Linked DNA regions of Homo sapiens: region 2 is linked to region 1. Evidence: promoter capture Hi-C in human tissues and cell types (Jung and others, 2019). All regions are on one chromosome and are shown on one strand. Each heading gives the region's core, a stretch centred on a gene start or on the middle of the fragment in contact. The rest is flanking DNA. Distances are from core to core; before and after follow the strand shown.

Region 1 (4,502 bases), core at 788-3,287:
TTGACCTAGATTGCTTCTGAAAAAAAGCTGGAGACAAAGTTCCTCTCACCAAGCAAAGCCATGGAAAATTGGTCACCTCCTTTTTTCAGAAACACAACAATGCAATGGGATTTTCAGTTCTGGATATCCCAAGAGAGAAGCATCAACATCCCTCCTTACTTTTATTAGCTTAGAATAGCACCCTACAATGCTTTAAAAGGATGTTTAAACGTATGCCTAAACCAGGTATGGTGGCTCACATCTATAACCCCAGCACTTTGGGAAGCTGAGTCAGGAGGTTGGCTTGAGCCCAGGAGTTTGAGACCAGCCTGGGCAATCAACATAGGGAGACCCCCCCATGTCTACAAAAAATCAAAAAAATAAAACTAGCTGGGCATGGTGGCATGTGCCTATAATTCCAGATACTCAGGAGGCTGAGGTGGTAGGATTGCTTGAGTCCAGAAGTTCGAGGTTACAATCAGCTAGTCGAGCTACTGCACTCCAGCTTGGGGACAAAGCAAGACCACGTTTCTAAAAACACCACCACCACCATCAAAAAACAAACACACAAAGTATGCCCATATTTTCTAAGTTCTAGAAAGGAGAGGATAAATTATCATACTTACTAACTTGAATCCCCAAATGATTTCCCAATTTTCTTCCCAAATAGTAATACTACTATTAAGAATATAATGAGTTTTTATTATTTGCCACTTTATAAGTGTTTTCCCACGTAATACTTCCAAGAACCCTGTGAGGTCTTGTTCTACTTATTTGATCAGCGAGAAACGGAGGCGCGGAGGTCACCAAGCTTGCTCAAGGTCACACAAGGGTGGACCCCTGAGCCTACCTCTCAACCTCGACTGCTGTGTCCATCCTTTCTTCATCGTTTCAACGTACCCCCCTCATTTCTTGGAATCTCTCCTGTGACCAAAGATGAACAAAATTATACATCACTAAAGAGGAAAACAAACTGCTGGGGAGACTACTCAGCAGCCTGATTTGAGGAGTATTTGGGAAGGGCAGCCTTCCTGTGGTATGGGAGTCTTTCTGTCCGCCACCTCGCCGGGACAGAAGTCACTCCATCCGCACCCCCGGGCGACCTCCGGAGGCCGCAGCTACCCCCGGGCTGCGAATTCCGAGTTCTCTCACGCCCCCGCGGGCGCCAGGACGCAGGGCATGTCCGCGCCCGGCGGGGATCCTTATCTCCTGGCCCCGGAGTAGGTCCGCAGGCTTCTCGGCCCTGCCAGGAACTTGAGGCCGGGGCAGATGATTGACTGGGTCCAGCAGTCTCTGCTGGCAGGGCAGTTGAAAAGCTAGAGGGATCTCTTTTTTGGTTGAATACCTGAACCCACACTAGCACCATGGCTTCTCTCTCTTGCCTGTAGTTTCCCGTGTCCTAAAAAGTTGGTCCCAAAGTTTAAGGATGCGGGTGTGTGTAAGAGCGCGTGTGACCCGCACAGGGATCCCAGTTGGGGAACCGGAGGATCCCACCGTCCCCCTCCCCCGGGTCGCAGAGACCCTGGCAGACCCCGCGCCAGGACCCGAACCCGCAAGCGCAGGGCAGGCAGGGAGGCGGCGAGCGCCCCGGGGCGGGTCTCGGGGGTTTCAGTGGGACCTGCGGCAAGGGGGGCGGCGAACCAGCCGGGCTGGGTGACCGACAGCCTGGCCAGCCACTGGCCGAGGGCGGTTAGGAGGCTTAGGGCCGGCGCGAGTGCGTGCGCGTGTGCGTGAGTGTGAGCGCCAGGGTGAGTGTGGCAGCCTCCCCAACCCCCACCTGTTTGAAATGGTTTTCAAATGCCAAAGCCAGATTGCCCGGGTTTCAAAAGTTGCAAACAGTTGGAGTAAAACACGTGTGCGGCCCTCCAGCCCCAAAGGAATCCGCGGAGTCCAGGGCACTGAAAGAAAAGGAGAGAGGATAGGGGTTCAGGAAGGGTTGGGGGGGAGTTGCCTTCTCCCGGCAGGTCGGTTTTAGGACCCATCGGGAAGCACGTTGGAATCTCTCCCTTCGGGGAGGAGGGGAGGGGTGGGCCGGCCGGCTGGCGGCCGCGGGGCGCATGCGCGCGCGTCTCCTGTCGCCGGCCGCTGCGCTCCGCGGCGCGGAATAGAATGAACTGTAACAAAACAAGCCGAGCCTTTGTATCTGCTTAAAGGGGCCGCGAGCACTTACCTCCCGCCCTGCTCCCCGCCGCCCCGCCACCGCGTCTTCAGGGCTCCCGGCAACTGGCTGGAAGGGCTTCCCTCACCCTCAGTAACAGCCTGCCAGCGAGGAGAGGCGAGCCGGGCGGGAGGCAAAGAGGAGGCACCGCATTTGTAAAAGGCAAGAGAGAAAGGAAGGAAGGAAAAAAAAATAACCCGAGCGGCGCAGAGTGGACTCTGGTCCGGGAGAGCACGGGCGGGCGCCGGAACGTGGACCCAGAGGCACCGGAATGCAAACAAAGCTCGCGGGCGCCTGTGCGGGGCTCGCGGGGAAGCCCAGAAAGTTTGTTTTATGATGGCTTGAGTGCGCGAGCGTGTGCAGGGGAGCGAGGCTGCCAAGTTTCTCTCTCCTGTTTTGTGATTTGGGGAGAGATGTTTCTCCCATGAACAAGCGGAGGCTTGGGGGCTCGTGCTGTGGGGGGCACCTGTCTCTCGTTTTATTTTTTTGGAGGAGGGGTGTAACTCATCATGTCCAAAGTGATCCAGAAGAAGAACCACTGGACTAGCAGGGTTCACGAATGCACCGTGAAGCGGGGACCCCAGGGCGAGCTGGGGGTGACGGTGCTGGGAGGCGCGGAGCACGGGGAGTTTCCGTACGTCGGAGCGGTGGCGGCGGTCGAGGCAGCGGGGCTTCCCGGCGGCGGCGAGGGCCCGAGGCTGGGCGAAGGGGAGCTGCTTCTGGAGGTGCAGGGGGTCCGGGTGTCCGGCTTGCCCCGCTATGACGTGCTGGGGGTCATCGACAGCTGCAAGGAGGCCGTCACCTTCAAGGCCGTCAGACAAGGTAAGGCAGGGCGCGCCTTTGGGGGGCGCCCCGAGAAAAGGAGGGTGGTCTGTGGGCTGCCCCTTATTCTCGATTTCCTGCTTCCCTCCTCGGAGCGCAGTGAAGAGAAGTTGAGGCCGTGCGCCCTGTGGTGGCGGTGAAATACACAAAGTTGTTGCGAGGTTGAGGGTTGTTTGCCCACCTGCGTTTCGAAGAGGGGGCTGGGTTTGCGCAAGGTAGCGGGGGGACGTTTCTCAGGCCTGGCTGGCCAACCTGTTATCTCCGCCACTAAGTGCAGCGCAGTCTCGCCTGCACCCGAGAGAGAGTTGGGGAACTGAGTCAGGGGCATGGTGGACGCTGTCCTGGCTCCTTGGGGGAGGGATGCAGCTGGCGTTCTTTGGCCACGAGTCAGTTTCCATACCTGCTGAGTGGGTATACAGAAAGAGAGGGTCTGTAGTTTATTGGACCTCCCCCATCAGAAAATCTGCTTCACCCCGCGACCCCTCCAGGTGAGCTAGGACACCACTGCCTGGCGGTTCCTGAGCCCGCCGCCAGAAGAGCCTGCATTCACCCCTCAGCCGGATGACGCATGTGTCTCCACCGTGTGGCTCAGCCATACACTTGGGAGGGGGAGAGGGGGAAGGGGTGCTTGCTTTTAGCTCGAATCGGGTCCAAGTTTACCCTCCCACCACCACCATCATCGTCATTATTGATGATGAAAATGAAGCTACTATTCATTGTTGGTTTACTACATGCCCGGCTCTGTGTAAAATACTTTACTTGCACTATCTCACTCCGATTCACAACAGTTCTAAGAACGAGTTGTTCTTATTTATATACCCCAAATTAGAGATAAGGAAACTGGGATTGATACTGGTTAAGTGACTTGCTCAAGGTCACACAGTTGCCAAAAGCGAGGGTTTGAGCCCTTGCTGCAGAGCCTTAAGTATGGAGGAGGAAGGAGTGGGGGGATGACCCTACCGCACTGAAGGGGCTGATTCCTGAGGAGGGAGTGGAAGCAAATTCCTCTCTCAGAAATCTGTAGAGGCCTTTTAAAAGATGCATTTGCTGGCTGCTGGTGATGTAGGTCCCTTACATCTCACTTTGGTACAGACAAGGGGCTGTCCTCATGTCAACCCAATGGAGACCAGCTGAGGCCCTTAAAGGGCTCCCTTGTGCAAGCAAGTGCCATGACGCAGGTTCTCCCCAGTGAAAGCACCGAAGGAAGTCGTGAAGTTGAACATGGTGAAAAGTTCCCATGTGTTTCCATAAGGACAGGCAGCAGCTGGAGGAATGTGTCAAAGGAAGGGCTGGGCCTAGCTGGTCCTCTCTTGGAAACAGGCGTGCTCCAGATGAAATGGAGGAGGGGGCGGCCGACTCGCCTGGCCTTTTAGCAGCTTTGGGAGCTGAGGAGCTGACACTTAGCTATGGAAAGCTCCTTGTATTTATGACTTCATTCTCCACTGGGATACCTCCTCCAAGAAGCCCTCCAGAATCCTGCTAGGATGCACAAATTCTTCCTCCTTTGGGCTCCTTTAATGTCTACTTTGTGGCTTTTTTACTT
Region 2 (4,502 bases), core at 1,408-3,907, 210 kb after region 1:
TGACAGCACAGCAGTGTGCCCCTTGGGAAATGTGGATGAGATGCCACAAGCCACCAAACTTGTGCCTTGACATTGGGTCCTCAGTTGAGCAGGTAACCCCCAGCTTGCTTGCCTGCAGTGATGTGGACTTCAGTTCTGCTCTCATCTCTTATCTACCATACCAATTTTTATAATTAAAACAGGAATAAACAAGGTGCTTAATGTAATCTGCAAGGGAGAAACAGGGCGATTGAACAGAAGGGCTGCATTCTGGTTTCAAGCACAGGGCGGGAGAGTCTATATATGGTGCAGAGGGTGCTAAAATTGTAAATATAAATTCTTAAATCTGCCAAATAATGGTCTGTAAATAGTGTAAAATAAGAATGTTCTCATTTACATTTAAATAGTTTAGATTTCTTGTTTTTCACTACAAAAATATAATATTAGTGCAAATATTATCTGGCAATGAAAGTAAATACACCAGACAGAGTCGTTGATTTCTTGTATATAGTCATCTGTTTTCAAACACTGGCTTATCACGAATGGCCTTTATCATACTCATGAGTTCTATTTGTTAAAGTGGCAAGAATCAGAAACTCAGGAAATGCAAATGCATGGGATTAGGAAATTCATTGGCTTTGGGTTGAAAGTGAATATTTTCTCTACTTGCTTGATACAAGTTAACTTGCTGGTACATTTGTCATTGCTATTAAGTGGCCCCTTTAACACTATTTTCTCTTCCTGCCAGACAAGTCTGAAATAATGAATTTTTTAACGTCCTTATCATATAACTGTAGTTTCTTGTTTCCTTGATGTGAATAAGGTAGTTACATAGTACTTAGTCCCTGACAGTAAAATAAATATTATACCAGAGGGGCACTTAAAAATATTGTAGAAAAACCAAAATAGAGCTTTTAAAAAAGTTTAGGCAACCCAGAACAACGTAGAAAAAGTAAATTGGAGAAAAGAGAAACAGAGAAGAAACAGAAAACAAAAAATAGAATAAAAACCTTAAGACCTAACACATTAACAATTTTATTAAAAGCAAATGCTCTAAGAACATCAGTCGAAAGACAAGAGATTGGCAGCGTGGACTAAAACATGACCCAGCTATATGCTGTCTTCAAGAAACTCACTTCAAATGAAACAATATAGGCAGGTTCAAAGTAAAAGGATGGAAAAAGGTGTGTAATGCAAACACCAATCAAAAGAAAGCAGTAATGGCTGTATTAATGTCAGATAAAGTAGACTTCATAGCAAGTAAAATTACCAGAGACAGAGAGGGACATTTTATAATGATAAATAAAAGGGTCATTCCACCATGTCGACATAGCAATTCTAAATGCCTATGCAACAAACAAAAGACCTGCAAAATATGTGAAGCAAAAACTGCTAGAGATGAAAGAAGAAATAGATACATCCACAATTATAGTTGTAGACATCAAAACCCCTCTCTCAATAATTGATAGAACAACTAGAGAGAAAAATCAGCAAAAATGTGGAAGAACTCAACACCATCAGCTAACTGAATCTAATTGGCATTTATAGACCTTCCACCCAACAAAAGTAGAATAGATATTATTTTCAAGCACCTACAGATCGTATACCAAGAAAAACCATATCGTGAGCAGTAACACAAAGCATGAAATTTAAGAACTGAAATCATACAGAGTATATTCTCCAACCATAGTGGAATCAAAGTAGAAATCAATAAGAGAAAGATAGCTCCAGCTACTTGGACTTCCTGAGCTATTTCCTGAACATGTTAAGCTCATTCACACTGTTTGAGGTTTCTGTGTGGAATGCTCTTCCCTCAGATTTTTCTCCTGGATGATTCATTCTGAGCTTTAAATTCAATGCCATTTCAGAAACTTCTGTAATTACCCAATCTAAAGTAGCCTTTACAGAACCTCCTTTAGCTAATATCTTCATGTTCCTACCTCCTCTTACTTTCATACCGTCCTGTTATTTTCTTCTTAGCACTTATTATCTGAAGTTACCTTTGTTGTTTATCTATCAGCTGGTGTTAGGCATAAGAATTTCAGCTGCAGAAAAGTGGGAATTACATGTGTTGTGTTCACCACAGGATCCCCAGTGTCTAGGGAAGTAGGTGCTGAGTAAGAATTTGCAAATGGACTGTAGATTTCTGTTACATAGCTAGTCATGTGTACTAGTAATCTAAAGATATTTTCACTGCTACAGAAAGCCACTGGGGAGCTTGTGAAAGTTCATAAACTTTTTCCTGCATGCAAATGAAACTAAGAGATCTAGCCCCTCTCTCTTCAGCCAACTTTTGGCTTCATGTAATTGTTTACTCAATTAAGGAAACTTTTCTGGGAGCTCAGATTGTAGTAGGTTGAATATGCTCAAAAGCATGCTGAAGCCTGCCACCTAACTTGTGGAAAAAAGCTGGCACTTGCTTCAAGTTGGTTGTAATAACACAACAAAAATCTCATAAAGCCTGGAATTTAAAAATGAATATTCTCTATTTTATATGACATAGTAAAGACTTACAAATAGGTAAGTCGTCGATGATTACACTAGTAAATAGATATTTGAACATATACTTGCACATTCAGTGAAAGTTCATCTTCAGTCTTTCTGTTTTGAATTGGAGTTGTAACTATGCTGTTGGTCTCTGATGCTACTGGGGAAGCCGGAGAGATTGTATTGTATGGGTGTTAGAAGTTCAGTAGACCTAGGCCAGGCGTGGTGGCTCAAACCTGTAATCCCAGCACTTTGGGAGGCTGAGGCGGGCGGATCACTTGAGGTCAGGAGTTTGAAACCAGCCTGGCCAATATGGTGAAACCCCCTCTCTACTAAAACTACAAAAATTAGCTGAGCGTAGTGGTGCACGCCTGTGATCCCAGCTACTCGGGAGGTTTAGGTAGGAGAATCTCTTGAAGCCGGGAGACGGAGGTTGCAGTGACCCCAAGATCACATCAGTGCACTCCAGCCTGGGTGACAGAGTGAGATTCTGTCTCCCAAAAAAAAAAAGTTCAGTAGACCTCCATTCCAGTCCTAGCCCACTATTACTGATTGACCTGTTTGGAGATGTTGGAAAAGTCATTTATTTACCTTCCCAAGCTCCATTCATTCACTTCATCCATACAAATGGGAATATAATTGCACCATTGTAGAATTCTTGTGAGAATTTTAGTGAAATGTAGTAAGAATGCATATTTAATCTGCTTCCTTGATACAGTCATATACTGGGTGAAAGCAGTGAGTAGGATTCAAGCTCCCCCACATTGAGTAATAATAACCAGACTTGAAAACAAAATAGTATCCATAATGGTTTGCTATTTTCATCAAAGTGGATAGAGACCATGATGGTTAGATTGAAGGCAGATGCTTTGCCTGATGGGTAGTCATTTCAGTAAACATTAAATATCTCTTGTATGCCTGGAGCTGCCCTAGGATGTGGAGGTATAGAAATAAGAGGCTCAAGTCTTCTGAGAGAGATGGTCAGAAAAATGAATGGCTCCAAAACACATGGTAATTGTTGGAAGAGAAGCTTTGGGCTGAGTGCTTTTGTGGCACAGAGAAGGGAGCATCTAGCTTCATCCAGGAGTCTTGAAAGATGAATGAACAGAAGTTACTTGCCAAGCAGATAGGCATGGAAGACCATGTCGTATTCAGAGACATGCTAGCAGTTTGGTTATGAGGAATTGCTGTAAGCCTTTTATTCTTTTGTGATTCTCCATCCCTAGGAGTTTTCTTTTCAGTGTGTTCAGTTTCATTACATGTGCTAAAACCACACTGGAAGTCTTTATTGTTTTGAAGAATCTCTCTTAGCCCCTCCCTTGGCATCATTTGTAAAGGGCTTAACCAAATTATAAGGCACAAAGACTGCACAGAACCAGCTGCATTTGCAGGCACTGATTGGGAGACATCATTTCTGCCAGTTAAATGTGGTGCCTAGTGGATCTGCACTGTGATTTATGCTGATGGCTGTGCAGTTGTTGCCTTTCCAGCTGCAATTAAACATTAATCTTTGGGCAGTCAAGAGAAAGGTGCTCTGAAAAAGAGGGCTGGTTGGAAACATCAGAGACCAAAAGGCACTCTTGAATGATGACAGCAAAACGTTAAAGACCTCCTGATAAATGGTAATGTAAGGTCTCTCGAGATTATTGGCGCAATATGAAAGGCAAGGCCCCCACAATTATTACTCAACATTCAGTAAGTCCAGGAATGGGTAAAGTATGTGAATTGCAACTTTGGCAAGCTGTAACCTTGTGGCCCACATATGTGGTGACACATTTCAGATTTGCCTTTTTAAATTTCAAATCTGTAGTAAAGACTGCCACCTTTTATTTTCTCTTTAAAGCAAATGTATTTCAGAGAGGCATTTTATCTAAAACTTCCATTCACACAAGTAAATTCTCTCCAGTAGGTGCTTTTTAAATATTTGCAAAAATCTATGTGGAATTTTTTTGTTTTGGCCTCATGAGTTTCCTGCCTGAATCGTAAGACCAGGAGTCATTTAGGTCTTTGCTTTTTAGTTCAAAAACGGCATTTTT

What was found. The method cuts DNA at HindIII sites, captures the fragments that hold promoters and counts their contacts. A contact is called where the count stands out against the background at its distance.
Region 2: a contact is called between a fragment that was not itself captured here and the fragment with the promoter of MAGI1 in region 1, in 1 of the 25 tissues and cell types used here (dorsolateral prefrontal cortex).

The regions. Positions count from the first base shown.
Region 1 is chr3:66,036,453-66,040,954 of GRCh38, reverse strand. It overlaps MAGI1 (membrane associated guanylate kinase, WW and PDZ domain containing 1), which reads left to right and starts at 2,037. Exons shown (of 23, transcript NM_001033057.2): 1 at 2,037-2,959. The coding sequence starts at 2,647. It overlaps LOC105377128 (a long non-coding RNA gene), which reads right to left and starts at 2,002. Exons shown (of 2, transcript XR_001740440.2): 1 at 1,757-2,002; 2 at 661-903. RefSeq lists a silencer at 1,950-2,069 and enhancers at 3,022-3,849, 3,850-4,502. The HindIII fragment of the contact is 7,387 bases long and covers 192-4,502 here.
Region 2 is chr3:65,831,597-65,836,098 of GRCh38, reverse strand. All of the region lies in intron 1 of MAGI1 (membrane associated guanylate kinase, WW and PDZ domain containing 1), which reads left to right. Among named protein-coding and RNA genes, the nearest start is that of MAGI1-AS1, 60 kb to the left of the region's middle. The HindIII fragment of the contact is 5,818 bases long and covers 1-4,502 here.